3 separate regions of the Homo sapiens genome follow, and regions 1 and 3 are each linked to region 2. Evidence: promoter capture Hi-C in 16 types of primary human blood cells and fetal thymus (Javierre and others, 2016). All regions are on one chromosome and are shown on one strand. The core of a region is centred on a gene start or on the middle of the fragment in contact, and the rest is flanking DNA. Distances in the headings are between cores, read along the strand shown. Region 1 holds the start of PLA2G15 (phospholipase A2 group XV). Region 2 holds the start of EDC4 (enhancer of mRNA decapping 4). Region 3 overlaps NFATC3 (nuclear factor of activated T cells 3).

What was found. Contacts are between HindIII fragments. The CHiCAGO score rates a contact against its expected background, and 5 or more counts as called.
Region 1: a fragment that was not itself captured here is called in contact with the fragment with the promoter of EDC4 in region 2 in 1 of 17 cell types (fetal thymus); the score reaches 5.1 in fetal thymus.
Region 3: a contact is called between a fragment that was not itself captured here and the fragment with the promoter of EDC4 in region 2, in 1 of 17 cell types (total CD4 T cells). The highest score is 5.9, in total CD4 T cells.

The regions. Positions count from the first base shown.
Region 1 is chr16:68,245,264-68,249,297 of GRCh38, forward strand. It overlaps PLA2G15 (phospholipase A2 group XV), which reads left to right and starts at 110. Exons shown (of 6, transcript NM_012320.4): 1 at 110-290; 2 at 4,027-4,034. The coding sequence starts at 164. RefSeq lists a silencer at 1-159 and an enhancer at 576-1,076. The HindIII fragment of the contact is 1,545 bases long and covers 1,379-2,923 here.
Region 2 is chr16:67,870,062-67,874,364 of GRCh38, forward strand. It overlaps EDC4 (enhancer of mRNA decapping 4), which reads left to right and starts at 2,991. Exons shown (of 29, transcript NM_014329.5): 1 at 2,991-3,282. The coding sequence starts at 3,201. It overlaps NUTF2 (nuclear transport factor 2), which reads left to right. Exons shown (of 5, transcript NM_005796.3): 5 at 739-2,506. The coding sequence ends at 852. RefSeq lists a silencer at 3,104-3,313 and an enhancer at 3,207-3,707. The HindIII fragment of the contact is 5,556 bases long and covers 1,496-4,303 here.
Region 3 is chr16:68,201,035-68,205,665 of GRCh38, forward strand. All of the region lies in intron 9 of NFATC3 (nuclear factor of activated T cells 3), which reads left to right. Among named protein-coding and RNA genes, the nearest start is that of MIR6773, 30 kb to the right of the region's middle. The HindIII fragment of the contact is 4,748 bases long and covers 1-3,828 here.

The DNA of each region.
Region 1 (4,034 bases), core at 901-3,400, 370 kb after region 2:
CGAGTCCCTATTGGCCAGCCATTTGCGGGAGGCGGGCCCTGATTGGCCGGGGGGATGCGGGGGATGCGGGCGGCGGGGTTAAGCGCGTCGCCACCGCCCCCGCCTAGGCGAGAGCCCAGAGAGCTGAACCTGCATCCCGGACCTGCGGCGACCGTCGTACACCATGGGCCTCCACCTCCGCCCCTACCGTGTGGGGCTGCTCCCGGATGGCCTCCTGTTCCTCTTGCTGCTGCTAATGCTGCTCGCGGACCCAGCGCTCCCGGCCGGACGTCACCCCCCAGTGGTGCTGGGTGAGGCACGGGTCTCGTGGTGGATCTGTCGGTCGGGCGGGACGGGCCGCGGGCGGGGCTGCCTTCCCGGTCTGCTTCTGTTCCAGTCACGAAATGGGGGAGCGTATTGGTATCTGTCTTGTCACTTAGGTGATCTAGATCTGCCGGCTCACCTCCCGCCATGCTGGGCGCGGGTGTGGTCAGCTCCCCACCTCCTGTCCTGGTAGAAAATGGGGGTGAGTGGGAGAGTTACCATCTGGTTATTCATAGTTCCACCTGTCCGCATCATTCCCAAGCCTTGCCTCCCCTTATCCCATTTTTAAGCTGGAAAGACAGGTGCTTCAGCCCCACTCCTGAGGGATGGTGGGGGTGTGTAGAGTGGCTCCTGAGTTGACTTCTGCATCGACCTGGGCCTGGTTAGGAGGCTGTCACCCTCGACCCCTCCAATGCCACATATGCCAGAAGGCATTGCTGAAAGGAACCTCCTTAGGGAAAGGATTGCTGTCCTAGCTGGCCACCAACTCCCACAACTTATCAGATGTGTGGCATTGCCTGAGGGAAAAGGCCTAAGGGAAACTGAAGACAACTGAAGTCAGGGGAAAGGGTTGGGACAATGGCCATGAACCTGTGTCAGGCAACATGCTTGTACTCTTACCCTGCCACACATGCTTGGACTAGACTATGTGGAGGCTCGGTGACCTCCCCTGCTCACCCCGCTCCTTGATCACAACCCTGGCAACTCTACAACGGCCACTGTATTTCCTTGCAGGGATGGGCAGGGATGAGACCTCTGTCTGGGGGGCCTTGGGTGCCTCATTGAGGCCGTCACTCCCATCCAGAGCTGGTGTGTCCGTGGCCAGCCAGGATTCCTGAAAGCAGAGGCATCTGAGGCATGAATTACACGTGGAGTCTAGTGCAGCATGATCTCCATGCTCTTTCTGCTGAGAGTACTTTAAATGGGGACGATGCAAATCACAGAAGGGTAGAGTTGGCAGGTAGGGTGGTGCCAGGCAGGCCCCACCAGGAGTTCCCAGCCAGGAAAAGCTCCAGGGGGATACTAGGCCCAGGTTCACCATGGGATTTGGGCAGACTTGGCCCTGCCTCCCCAAAGCTTGCAGGATAGGAATAACAGTGATCCCCAGAGAGGAAGTCTGTGTGGGGCAAGCACAGAGAATCCACCAACCCAGCCTGGATGGGTGGGTGTCAAGTAAGGCTTCCTGGAGTATATAGCTGGAGCTAAGGCCAGGAGAGAGTAATGGGTCGGGGAGAGACGTGAGCATCTCAGGCTGCCTGGGATCGAGTCACAGGAGGAGTGGACTGCACAGGACTTGTGACTGGTTGGGTCATCTGAACTTTATCTTGAGGGCCTCAGGGAGTCCTGGGTTGGCCTGCAGAGTTCTAAGTCTGAGGGGCGTGGCATTAGGAAGCATGTGGTCTGTGGCACACAAAATGGCACATAGCCATTTTGCCTGGATTGATGCTAACCGCACTCATCAATTCAGTCAGTCTGTTTATCCTTGGTCACAGCAGAAGAGCCTCAGACCCCACCCAGAATCACAGAGCAGCAGGAGTCCTAACATGCCCAGCTTCTCAGGGAGTGAGGCTGCTGGCCTTAGCCCTGGGAGACCTCACGGTGGGCAGTTGGATAAGCAGCTCCTGGGCACAGAGCAGGGATCTGACCTTGACTGTCAGAAGATCAGAATCCTCTAGGGGTGGATCCTGAAATGGTGGTGGAGGAAAGAGAGACCAGCGATGTGATACAGAAGACCCTGGGCAAGGGGAAGGGACCATAGGCAAGGCCATTTCCACCTCTTGCAGCCTCAGTCTCCCCATCTGTTAAGTGGAAATAGTAAGGCTGTCCCCTCCCAGTGTTACTTGAGGTGAAAGGCATGTGGATGGCTCTTTTCCTAGTTCCAGGCGCAGATGGGCTCAGGAAGTGGCCACTGCTATTTTTAGGGGCCACACAGCCTGACCAGGGTAAGGAGCATCTGAGCAAAGCAGATCTGGTGACTTCCTCTTTTACCATTTCCCCTTTGGTAGAGACAGTGACCAGGGTCTCTGCCCTGCCCTGCCCAGTCCACAGGCATGTCATCCAGAGGCTGTCATGACAGGGACTCCCTCCCTCTGCACCCATACCATGAAGGGAGGTGAAGGCATGTGCCGCCCCTGCCTCTCATGGCACCCTGAAGACACTGGGATGGTGCCCAGGGAGGGCACGCCCTGTTCAGGGTGGATTTACGGTCAGTTCCCAGTGAATGTCCAGGAGAGCCAAGTGCTGGTTTTTCACTCAATGATCATGGACCCTAAACGGGGATGTGTTTGGGAAGTGGCGAGAGCATGGCATGTGGGGGCAGGTGAGGCCCGAAAGGTCAATGGGAGTAACGAGACTGTGAAGGGCTTTGACGCAGTGGGGAGGGATTTGGGTGTCACCAGGGCCCCAGAGTTCTGAGTACACTGAATAGGATGGCTGGGATGGAGAGAAGTCACCCTAGGGCCTGGACTGTGGTGATAATGGTGCTGGTTCAGGGTGGCTGTTTCCAATACGGGCTCCCAGCCATGCTAGGGCCCTCCAGATGATCTGCTCTCTGGCACCTTACTGGACTCTGGCCTTTAGTAAGGCCTGGGCCCTTGGTAGGCTGGCGGGTGCCAATGTAAGCTTCTCTCAGCTGTGTTTCTGTTCATTTCCCTCCCACCAGCCTGTCCTGCATACTTTGTCTGGTTGAATTTTAGCTGAGTGGCCCAGGGCTCTGTTCTGTTTCCTTCTTCCTCTCTCAGGGCGAACAGGACCCTGTCTTCTATGTAGCCTGGGATAGCTATGGGTGGAAGACTTTTGGGTTCAAGCCTCCAGGGTATATATCTTTTTTTTTTTTTGAGACCGGGTCTTGCTCTGTCACCCAGGCTGGAGGGCAATGGCACGATTTTGGCTCACTGCAACCTCTGCCTCCCGGGTTCAAGCAATTCTCCTGTCTTAGGCTCCTGAGTAGCTGGGATTACAGGTGTGTGCCACCACACCAAGGTAATTTTTTGTATTTTTAGTAGAGATGGGCTTTCACCATATTGGCCAAGCTGGTCTTGAACTCCTGACCGCAAGTGATCCACTCACCTCGGCCTCCCAAAGTGCTGGGATTACAGGCATGAGCCCCTGCGCCCTGCCTCGAAGGTATATATCTAATGACAAGGGCCTTGGCCAAACTTTGGAGGTTCTGGAATGCAAAGGGGTCTCCAAGCCCCTCCTCCCAGGCAGAGCTCCCATCGGGGTCCATTAACCATAGAAACCATGTGTAGAGGTGTGTCTGTGTTTGCTGGGGGTGATTCAGACCAAGATCTCATTTAACAGATACGGAAACTGAGGCCTAGTGTGGGGAGTGACTTCACCCTGAACCCCCTTCCAATAATCTGAATGGCCCAGGAGGATGTTCCAGTGAAAATCCAGGAGACTTACTTTATCTGGAGTTGGAGACAATGTTAGGGCCCTTCCCCAAACATGTCAGGCCTCTCCCAAGCCCCCCACAGGCATCTCTGCACCACACAGCAGTAGCAGCTTTTCTGCACAAAGATGGTTCCCTGGCCTTTGGGTCAAGGTCCCTGCTCTCTGAATTTCCTGCCACCAGCACTGTGCTTTAATTTGAGATGTGGAACTGCACAGGTCTGCCATATTATCTGTGGCTCTTCAGGGGGTCTGCTGCAGACATCAAAGTTCTTGGGAGTCTTGAACCTGCCGGGCTGAGGGCTCACACATGTCCTGTGCCCCCTGCAGTCCCTGGT
Region 2 (4,303 bases), core at 1,741-4,240:
TGTGCCTGAAGAGGCACAGAATTCAGGAGGTCTCTGTAGGGAGCTCATTGTTCACTTTCTCAGGCAAAGGTAGTAAACACTGCTGCTTCCCACCGGCTTCAGGTTCTTCCTGGTGATTCTGTCCAATTTGGAGCTCCCAAACAACTGATTTGCCTCCTTGATGACGATAATTCCCAGAAAGCAGGTGATGTTAGAGACAGTGCTGGTTAGCTAGGCTCCTATTTCAACTAGGTCTCATCCTAGTTTTCTGCAGTTTGGCTGCAGGTTTCTTGCCCTTTTTTTTCATCTCAAATACTGTTTATTACATGACAGGAAACATCATTGGATAGTGAACCTATGTTTTCAAGATTGTTTGCAGTTTTTTTGATACTCTATAAGTTACTTGGTAAATACTATGGGATTCGTTTCAAAATTGTGATCACTTGTGTCTGGAGATATGTGCTTGGAGGCAGGTACATCCTCTGCTCTTTTGCTGTAGCTAAGGGTGAATTATTGTGCAGTTTAAGCACACATAGCACACATAGGCGTGGCTGATTGTTGGCCTACATGTGCCCAGGGCATTGTTTCATACATTACATCAATTCACATTCACAAGTACCCCTTGGCTACACTGGGATTTGAGTTCAGGACAGTAGGGCCTGATCCTAAAGTCAACATTTTTTTGCCCTCTTCTCCTACCACTGAATTCCCTTCCTGTTTCTTGATCCCCTTACTGAATCCTCTTTTCTCTCCTCATAGGCGGATGAAGACCCCATCATGGGGTTCCACCAGATGTTCCTATTAAAGAACATCAACGATGCTTGGGTTTGCACCAATGACATGTTCAGGCTCGCCCTGCACAACTTTGGCTGACCTCCTCTCAGCTAGGCACTCACGCTGTTTCCTCCTCCCTCCTCTTCCCAATACTATTCCCACTCCTCCAGATGCTCCAAATATCATGCACAAATGAGCAGGGCCGCGGTGGGAGTGGGCGCAGTGCGCTGCTGCCACTGAGGTGTTGTGCATGATGTTTGGATGCTAGACTAGTTGCATCTGACGGGAGAAGTTTGTGTTGTACCAGCGCATGCCTTGGAAAGACTTAAGTAATGCAAAAGGTTGTCCTTTTTTTTTTTTTTTTTTTTTTAATCTACTGACAAGTTGCTCTAGTAACCCAAAGAAGTGAAGGAGAAAGCAGCTGCCTCACCGCCCAGACATTGATTTGTTCAGATGTTTCAATGCCTCATGATACAATAAAACCACAAAAATTTTCTTAACAGTTTAAATTGTTTTAATTAGTTTACTAGTTGGCTGGGCATCAGAAGCTACCCAGACCCGTTGTCTCTCTCATGTTTCACCCTCCCACTTCTGCCCCAACTCTGAATACCTGTTGCAGGGAGAAACTGCTGAAGCAGCACTCCCAGCTAGCCTCTCAGAAGCCGTGTAGGGCAGTTCTCTCCCACTCCACAGGGCGACTGGTCTTTGGAAAGCAGGCAGGAAGAGCTCAGGTCTGGCCTGAAGCTTCTCTCACTGAAGCCTGTGCAGTCAGTTCTGATACCTCCTGTGACTTCTGCTCTGGGTAGGTTCAGGGCCCTAGTAGCAGGAGAGATGATCCTGAATCCTGTTGAAGCTGGAGAGGCCTTGGCAAAATGGCTCATCACGTTCAGGCCCTCCGGGCTGAGTTGTCAGCAGTATCAAGGGAGGGGCCTGCTCTATCCCCAGAAGGATCAGGATCATATCCAGGATGCCCCACATACACCAAGCCAGGCAGAGGGCAGCTCAGCTCCTGTCCCATCTGCTTTGGATATCTTTACCCAAAGGCAGGTAACCCGAAGAGCCAGCCTCCACTGCCCACAGAGCCAGGCCCAGTTGTGTTGGAGTATAGGTCAGGAGCTGTGGAAGGAGGCAGTCTGTGAGGGACTCATGCTTTAGGAGTCCTCACCCCTCAGACTGCTGCAGGACATTGCCAGGCCTCTCTCCACTTCCTTCCTCAGCATACAGACTTCATGCTATCTTCCAATTCCGGGGAGTCTTAGCTATTAGGGCAGTTTCTGCTTCTCCATTTTGGGGACAAAGGCCTTGCCCAGTACAAATCTAGCCCCTTGTCCCACAGACTTCTGGATGGTATAAACCTAGTGGCAATGTAGCAACCATAGGCTAGAACCAAACCCAAGATTTGGGTCAGTGCCCTGTTAAGGGTTTTAGGATTGGTAAGGACACCACAGCTAAATCTGACATGTAAAAGGATACCCTTCCCCTGTCCCACTACGGGTGGAGGCTAAGGACCTCCTCAGATCCCACAGATTGCCTGGTGACATTGGGCACAGGGCTGGATGGTGTGCTGTTTGAGAGGACAGCATGCTCAGGAGATTTCAGTGGGAATGATCTCTAGGCTGATGTGTATTTGGGGAAGTGGGGGTGGGGAAGAGGTAGGTGCCTGCTGCCTCAAACCACCTTGTGTAAAATCTGCAATACGGCTTCTTCCATGTACCTGTGCCTGAACTGTCTGCAATAAAGAAGAATTTGTAAACTGTGGTTTCTTTCTTCCAACCTGAGGGTGCCAGGTGGGACAAGGGGATGCTGGGGGACAGTAGGGAACAATGACTGGTCATTGTAGTGGGATCATCTCCCCTGCTCTTGCAATTCCTGAGTTTTATGACCTCGAGGGTAGCCTCAGGCCTTGAGTTATTCCGACCCATTCCCAAAGGGAACCTGAGGCACCTGCCAATTCAGCATATTCTGGGGGTCTGAGGGACCTTAGCATGGGCGGCTAAGTTGACCCCGTCCCAGGACCATCGGAGTCCATGCTCTGGGAGTGGGCAGGGACCTGGCGCCTTCTGAGTCGAGTAGGGCTTTAGGTGGCCCAGTGCGTGGACGCTTACTTCAGCCCCGTGGGACTTTCCTGACCTCGCGGACACAGGGGCGGGGCCGCCGAGGGGGACTGGCTGCGGGAGGGGTTTAGGCTTCCGCCCCCAGCCCGGAACCTTTCTTCTCCGGCCCTGGCAGGTTCCGGGAGCCTCGGCTCGTGGGTGCCGGAAGTGGAGGCGGTTGGTGGGGTTGGCGGGGCTCAGCGACGCTGCGCGGGTGGCGGTTTGCGAACTGCGGGTGGACTGTGTAGTGACCGGCGTCCCGCTGTCTCGCCCCGTGGCGGGTGAGCGAGGGTGCGTGGTGCGCGGCGGCGGCGGAACGAACGCGGTGCGGGCGGGGCGCCCGCCGCAGGGCCCATGGCCTCCTGCGCGAGCATCGACATCGAGGACGCCACGCAGCACCTGCGGGACATCCTCAAGCTGGACCGGCCCGCGGGCGGTGAGCGGGGGTTGCGGGGGTGGGCCCCAGGCGAGCTGACAAAAGGGCGGCGCGCGTCTGAACCGCCATTGGGGCCCACAGCTCCCTTAGGACTAGCTCTGGATCCTCCCGGCGGGTAAGGGTGGACGGGGATTGACTGTGCCCCTCGAAGGGCGCAGACCCCTGGGTGTGACCCCTCCCTATCTTGTCCTCAGGCTGTTCTGCCTTGTCCTTCAGCGTCTCGGTTGAAGGTGAGGCGCCTTCTCTGAATCCGCTGGGGCCCTCTGGTTTCCTGGCCCCGAGGTCTCTAGTGTTCCTGGGACTGGCCTAGCTCCTCTTCCCTTTCTCCATGGTTCAGAGGCCTGGTCTGGGCTCCGTATATGGAATTCTGGGCCCAGGCTTAAGCGCGATGCTGAAGAGCTGCCGGTCCCCCTCCATAACTTGCCCTTCTCTCTGGAATAAAGACTCCAGGCCTCCCGTTCTGAAACTGATTTCCAGGAGGAAGGTGTCCAGTCTCAATTCCGTGTTCTTTCTGGGATGAAGGCAAATCACAGACCGCACCACCCTGACTGAATTATGCTACAAATATCTGCAAGCCCTAATTGGTTCCCATTCATTCATATTTCGCTTTGGCTCTTAATGATACCTCAGAACTAGTCTTGCCCCCAAAGATTCCCCAAGACACAGCTAACAGGGTTGTAATATACTGTTGTCATTGAAAGAAAGGAGTGTCTCGATACTGTGATGGGCGTGGGAAGGGTGGAGGCTGGTGAGTGCAGAGTGCAGGTCTGAGAGGGGAGACTGGGCTAGGTCTTGTAATGTGAACAGGGGCTTGGGTGTCAGGAAAGGCACCCAAGGCACCTATGGAGAAGCCACCTATTAGGAAGAGGAAATAGCACGTGTGCAGGCACTAGTTTACTGACAGGTTTAGGGATCTCTGAAGTGGCCGGTGATGATGGTGTGGGCGTACAGTGGAGAATTGTGTTTCCTCAGATCTTGTTCTTACACCTGCTGGGAGGCCCAGACTGGCTGCTTCTGGAAG
Region 3 (4,631 bases), core at 205-2,704, 330 kb after region 2:
GATTCTCATGCCTCAGCCTCCCGAGTAGCTGGGATTACAGGTGCCCACTGCCGTGCCCAGCTAATTTTTGTATTTTTAGTAGAGACAGGGTTTAGTCATGTTGGCCAGGCTGGTATTGAACTCCTGACCTCAAGCGATCTGCCTGCCTCAGCCTCCTAAAGTGCTGGGATTACAGGCATGAGCCACTGCACTTGGCCTTTTTAAAATTTATTTTGAGACAGGGTCTCACTCTGTTGCACAGGCTGGAGTGCAGTGGCGTGATCATGGCTTACTGCAGCCTTGACCTCCTGGGACTCAGGTGATCCTTCCACTTTAGCCCCCCAAGTAGCAGGGACTACAGGCACACACCACAGTGCCTAGCTGATTTTTGGGGGGTTTTTTGTTTGTTTTTGTTTTTTTTATTGTTTTTTGTTTTTGGTAGAGATGGAGTTTCGCCATGTTGCCCAGGCTGGTCTCAAACTCCTGGGCTCAAGTGATCTGCCCTCCTTGGCCTCCCAAAGTGCTGGTATTACAGGCGTGAGCCACTGTGCCCGTTTGTCAAGCTGTTTTAAACATTTTAATTAAGATTTGATTCAGTGTGGTAATTGATACTGTTTTTTTGTTTGTTTCTTTTAAAAAAAAGAAAGATTATAGCGGCCAGACACAGTGGCTCATGCCTGTAATCCCAGCACTTTGGGAGGCTTAGGTGGGTGGATCACCTGAGGTCAGGAGTTCGAGTCCAGCCTGGCCAACATGGCAAAACCCCATCTCTACCAAAAAGGAAAAAAAGAAAAATCAGCTGGGCACGATGGTGCATGCCTGTAGTCCCAGCTACTTGGGAGGCTGGCATAGGAGAATCACTTGAATCCGGGAGGTGGAGGTTGCAGTGAGCTGAGATGGCACCACTGCACTCCAGCCTGGGCAACAGAGTGAGACTCCATCTCAAAAAAAAAAAAAAAAAAAAAAAAAAAGATTATAGTATTGTGAAACTAGACTATCTTAGACCTTTAAATACAGGCCCATTTAATTTATGATTGAGTTAACCGAATCCTGTTACAACTTTCCATTAAAGTCCCTCAGTTCCCACTTGTCCTCCTTGTTCACAGACTAACAGAGCCACAGCTGCAGCTCTTCAGCAGAGAAGAGGATGCATGTTAAATATAGCCTGACCTGATGCTGTGCTGAAAACTGACACTGCCACTTGCAGGCTCTGTGCAGTAACATGCTGATCCTGAATGTAGGGCATTTGGTAATTCAGCAGTAGTAAACAGGGACTCTAGTCATGACCTCAGCTGCTTCAGTTCTGTATGTAAAAGACAAGCAGAAGAGCCTGCTTTCAAAAAGCAGGTGCTTTTTAAAATCAAGGGAATGATAAACACAACATTCAGGTGGTTACTTGGATGTGGGAAGCAGGAGACTGGTATGGAGGAGGAACAGAGAGGTTAGTATTGTCAGTGTTCTCTTGCACCTGTTGGTTAGTGGTTTCACTGGTGTCTATTTTATTAAAATAAAACAAGGCAAGGCGCGGTGGCTGACGCCTGTAATCCCAGCACTTTGGGAGGCCGAGGCAGGTAGATCGCCTGAGGTCAAGAGTTTGAGACCAGCCTGGCCAATATAGTGAAACCCCGTCTCTACTAAAAATACAAAAATTAGCTGGGCGTGGTGGTGGACACCTATAATCCCAGCTACTCGGGAGGCTGAGGCAGGAGAATCGCTTGAACCTAGGAGGCGGAGGTTGCAGTGAGCCGAGATCGTGCCATTGCACTCCAGCCTGGGCAACAGGAGCAAAACTCCATCTCAAAATAAATAAATAAATAATAAAAAAAAATAAATAAATAAAATTAAATAAAAGCCATACACAGCCAGTGGTGAGAATGTGTCATCTATGAGGTATAATCACTATGGGCACTGGAGTGGAGGGAGGTAGATAATGCTGAAATTTCTCTTTTAACTTGGACACTGGATAACTCACGAATCCTCTTTTGGGAAGCATACATGTACTATACAGCCTCAAACGTGTTTAGGATGAATGATTCCAGAAGCTGAAAGGTCTTGTAAATAATGCCTATGTAGGCTTTAAATCATGGCTTATGCGAGATGGACCATGATGGGGATTCAAGACCTTAGACACAACCACCCTGGGACATACAATAAGAAAAATTGAGTTTTAGGCCTAATGAAGAAAGAACAACAAACATTTGAGAAGATTTTTTATTTTTTATATCGAATGCGTCTGTGTATTTCCATGGACATAAATAAGTTGTACCTTTTTTTAAATGAATGTATTATTTCTGAACAAAAAATTTATTTTAATCAACCTACATTAAGATTTATACATGACCAGGTGCTGTGGCTCGTGTGTAATCCCAGCACTTTGGGAGGCCAGAGCCGGTGGATCGCTTGAGCTCGGGAGTTTGAGACCAGCTTGGGCAACATGGTGAAACCCTGTCTCTATAAAAAATACCAGAATTAGGCCGGGTGTGGTGGCGTGTGCCTATAGTCCCAGCTACTCGAGAGGCTGAGGTGGGAGGATCGCTGGAGCCTGGAAGGCAGAGGTTGAAATTAGCAGAGATCATGCCACTGCACTTCAACTTGGGCGACAGAGTGAGACCCTGTCTCAAAATAAATAAAATGCAATTAAAAATATAATTTATACATAAGCTAGGAAAAGTCCAAGAGAGGCTACCACTAAAGCAGCATATCAGAAGTCTTCAAACTAAGTTCCCCTCAAAATGTGTATTTAAAAATAGTTAATGGCTGGGCGCGGTGGCTCGTGCCTGTAATCCCAGCACTTTGAAAGACCGAGATGGGAGGATCATTTGACATCAGGAGTTCAAGACCAGCTTAACCAACATGGTGAAACTTCGTCTCTACTAAAAACAGTAAAAATTGGGCCAGGCACAGTGGCTCATGATTGCAATCCCAGCACTTTGGGAGGTCGAGGCAGGCGGATCACTGGAGGCCAGGAGTTTGACACCAGGCTAGCCAACATGGTGAAACCCCGTCTCTACTGAAAATACAAAAATAAGCCGGGTGTGGTGGCACACATCTGTAATCTCAGCTACTTGGGAGGCTAAGGCAGGAGAATCGTTTGAACCTGGGAGGCAGAGGTTGCAGTGAGCTGAGATGGTGCCACTGCACTCCAGCCTGGGCGACAGAGCAAGACTCCATCTCCAAAAAAAAAAGAAAATAGTGAAAATTAGCCACGCATGGTGGTGAACGCCTGTAATTTCAGCTACTCATGAGGCTGAGGCAGGAGAATCACTTGAACCTGGGAGACAGAGGTTGCAGTGAGCTGAGATCAGGCCACTGCACTCCAGCCTGGGCAGCAGAGTGATACTCTGTCTCAAAAATACAAAAAATGGTAATGAATTATGGTTACTGTTTCTTGATAAACTCATATTTTTTTTGAACACTGTGCTAGGCACTTTGCTAGTGGCTCATTAATTCTTTGCAATCATGTGTGAAATGTGAATTATTAGTCTTAATTTTGTATAGATGTGGCTCAGAGACCTTAAGCACATCCCAGCGTTATATGGCCACAAATAATTGGGGCAGACATTTGAATCCAGATTTGTCTGAAATGTAGATTTTCTCACATGTGTTTTTAGTGGCTTCTAAAATAGCTATAATTGATTACTTATATAATCTCGCTTTCGTAAAGACAATAGCATTGTAACTTTCTAATGTGCTGCCATGTGTAAGATAGCAAAACCTGTCTTAAAGATGTATTCTATTTTAAAATTGATATCCTTTTTTTGAGTTCCTTCGAAGACAGATTATTCACAGGAACAAAAAGATTTTTTAATGAGAGATAAATTGTTTAATTTTAGGTTCAGCAGTTGAACAAGCTTTTTGTGGTTTGGTGGCAGTTTTCTGCCTTGGCATTACAAGGTTACCTCTTGCTAACAATCATAGCTTTTGATAGACTTAGATAAATGTGTTCAAACAGCTTTTCTCTGTTTGAAGATGCCTGGCTCTTTTTTTTTTTTTTTTTTAAAGACATTTCCAAAGCCTACAGTTAGTGTCTCCATCTGGGCAAGAGACAACATGTGAAAGTCTCATTTATGCTGGAAGATAGGGTAGGGTTGAGAGTGATGGTTACAAGCATTTTAACTTTACATCTACAAGAGTGTGGTACAGATTAAGTCCTTGATAATCATGTTGTATATTTAAAAACATCTATAGATGATTTTATGTAGAATGGGAATTTTAACATTTTAAATGTGTTTATTTCTTTGGTGGGGGAACGGAGACAGGAGTTTGCTCTGTTGATCAGGCTGGAGTGCAGTGGGACCATCATGGCTCACTGCAGCCTCGACCTCCCAGGCTCCAGCATTTCTCTCCCACCTCAGCCTCCCGAGTAGCTGGGGCTACAGGTGCCTGCCACCACATCCGGCTAATTTTTAAATTTTTTTGTAGAGGCAGGCTTTTACTACGTTGCTCAGGTTGGTCTCGGCCTCCCAAAGTGCTAGGATTACAGGCGTGAGCCACCATGCCTGGCCTGTGTTTCTTAATATAATCATTTTTTGAACAAGTAATATGTTCATGTGGTTTAAAATGCTAAAGTTACAACATTATACATAGTTAAAAAAAATCTGTCTTCTAAGTAGATACTCCATTGTCCTCTGTAGGGAGAATTGGAGTTACTA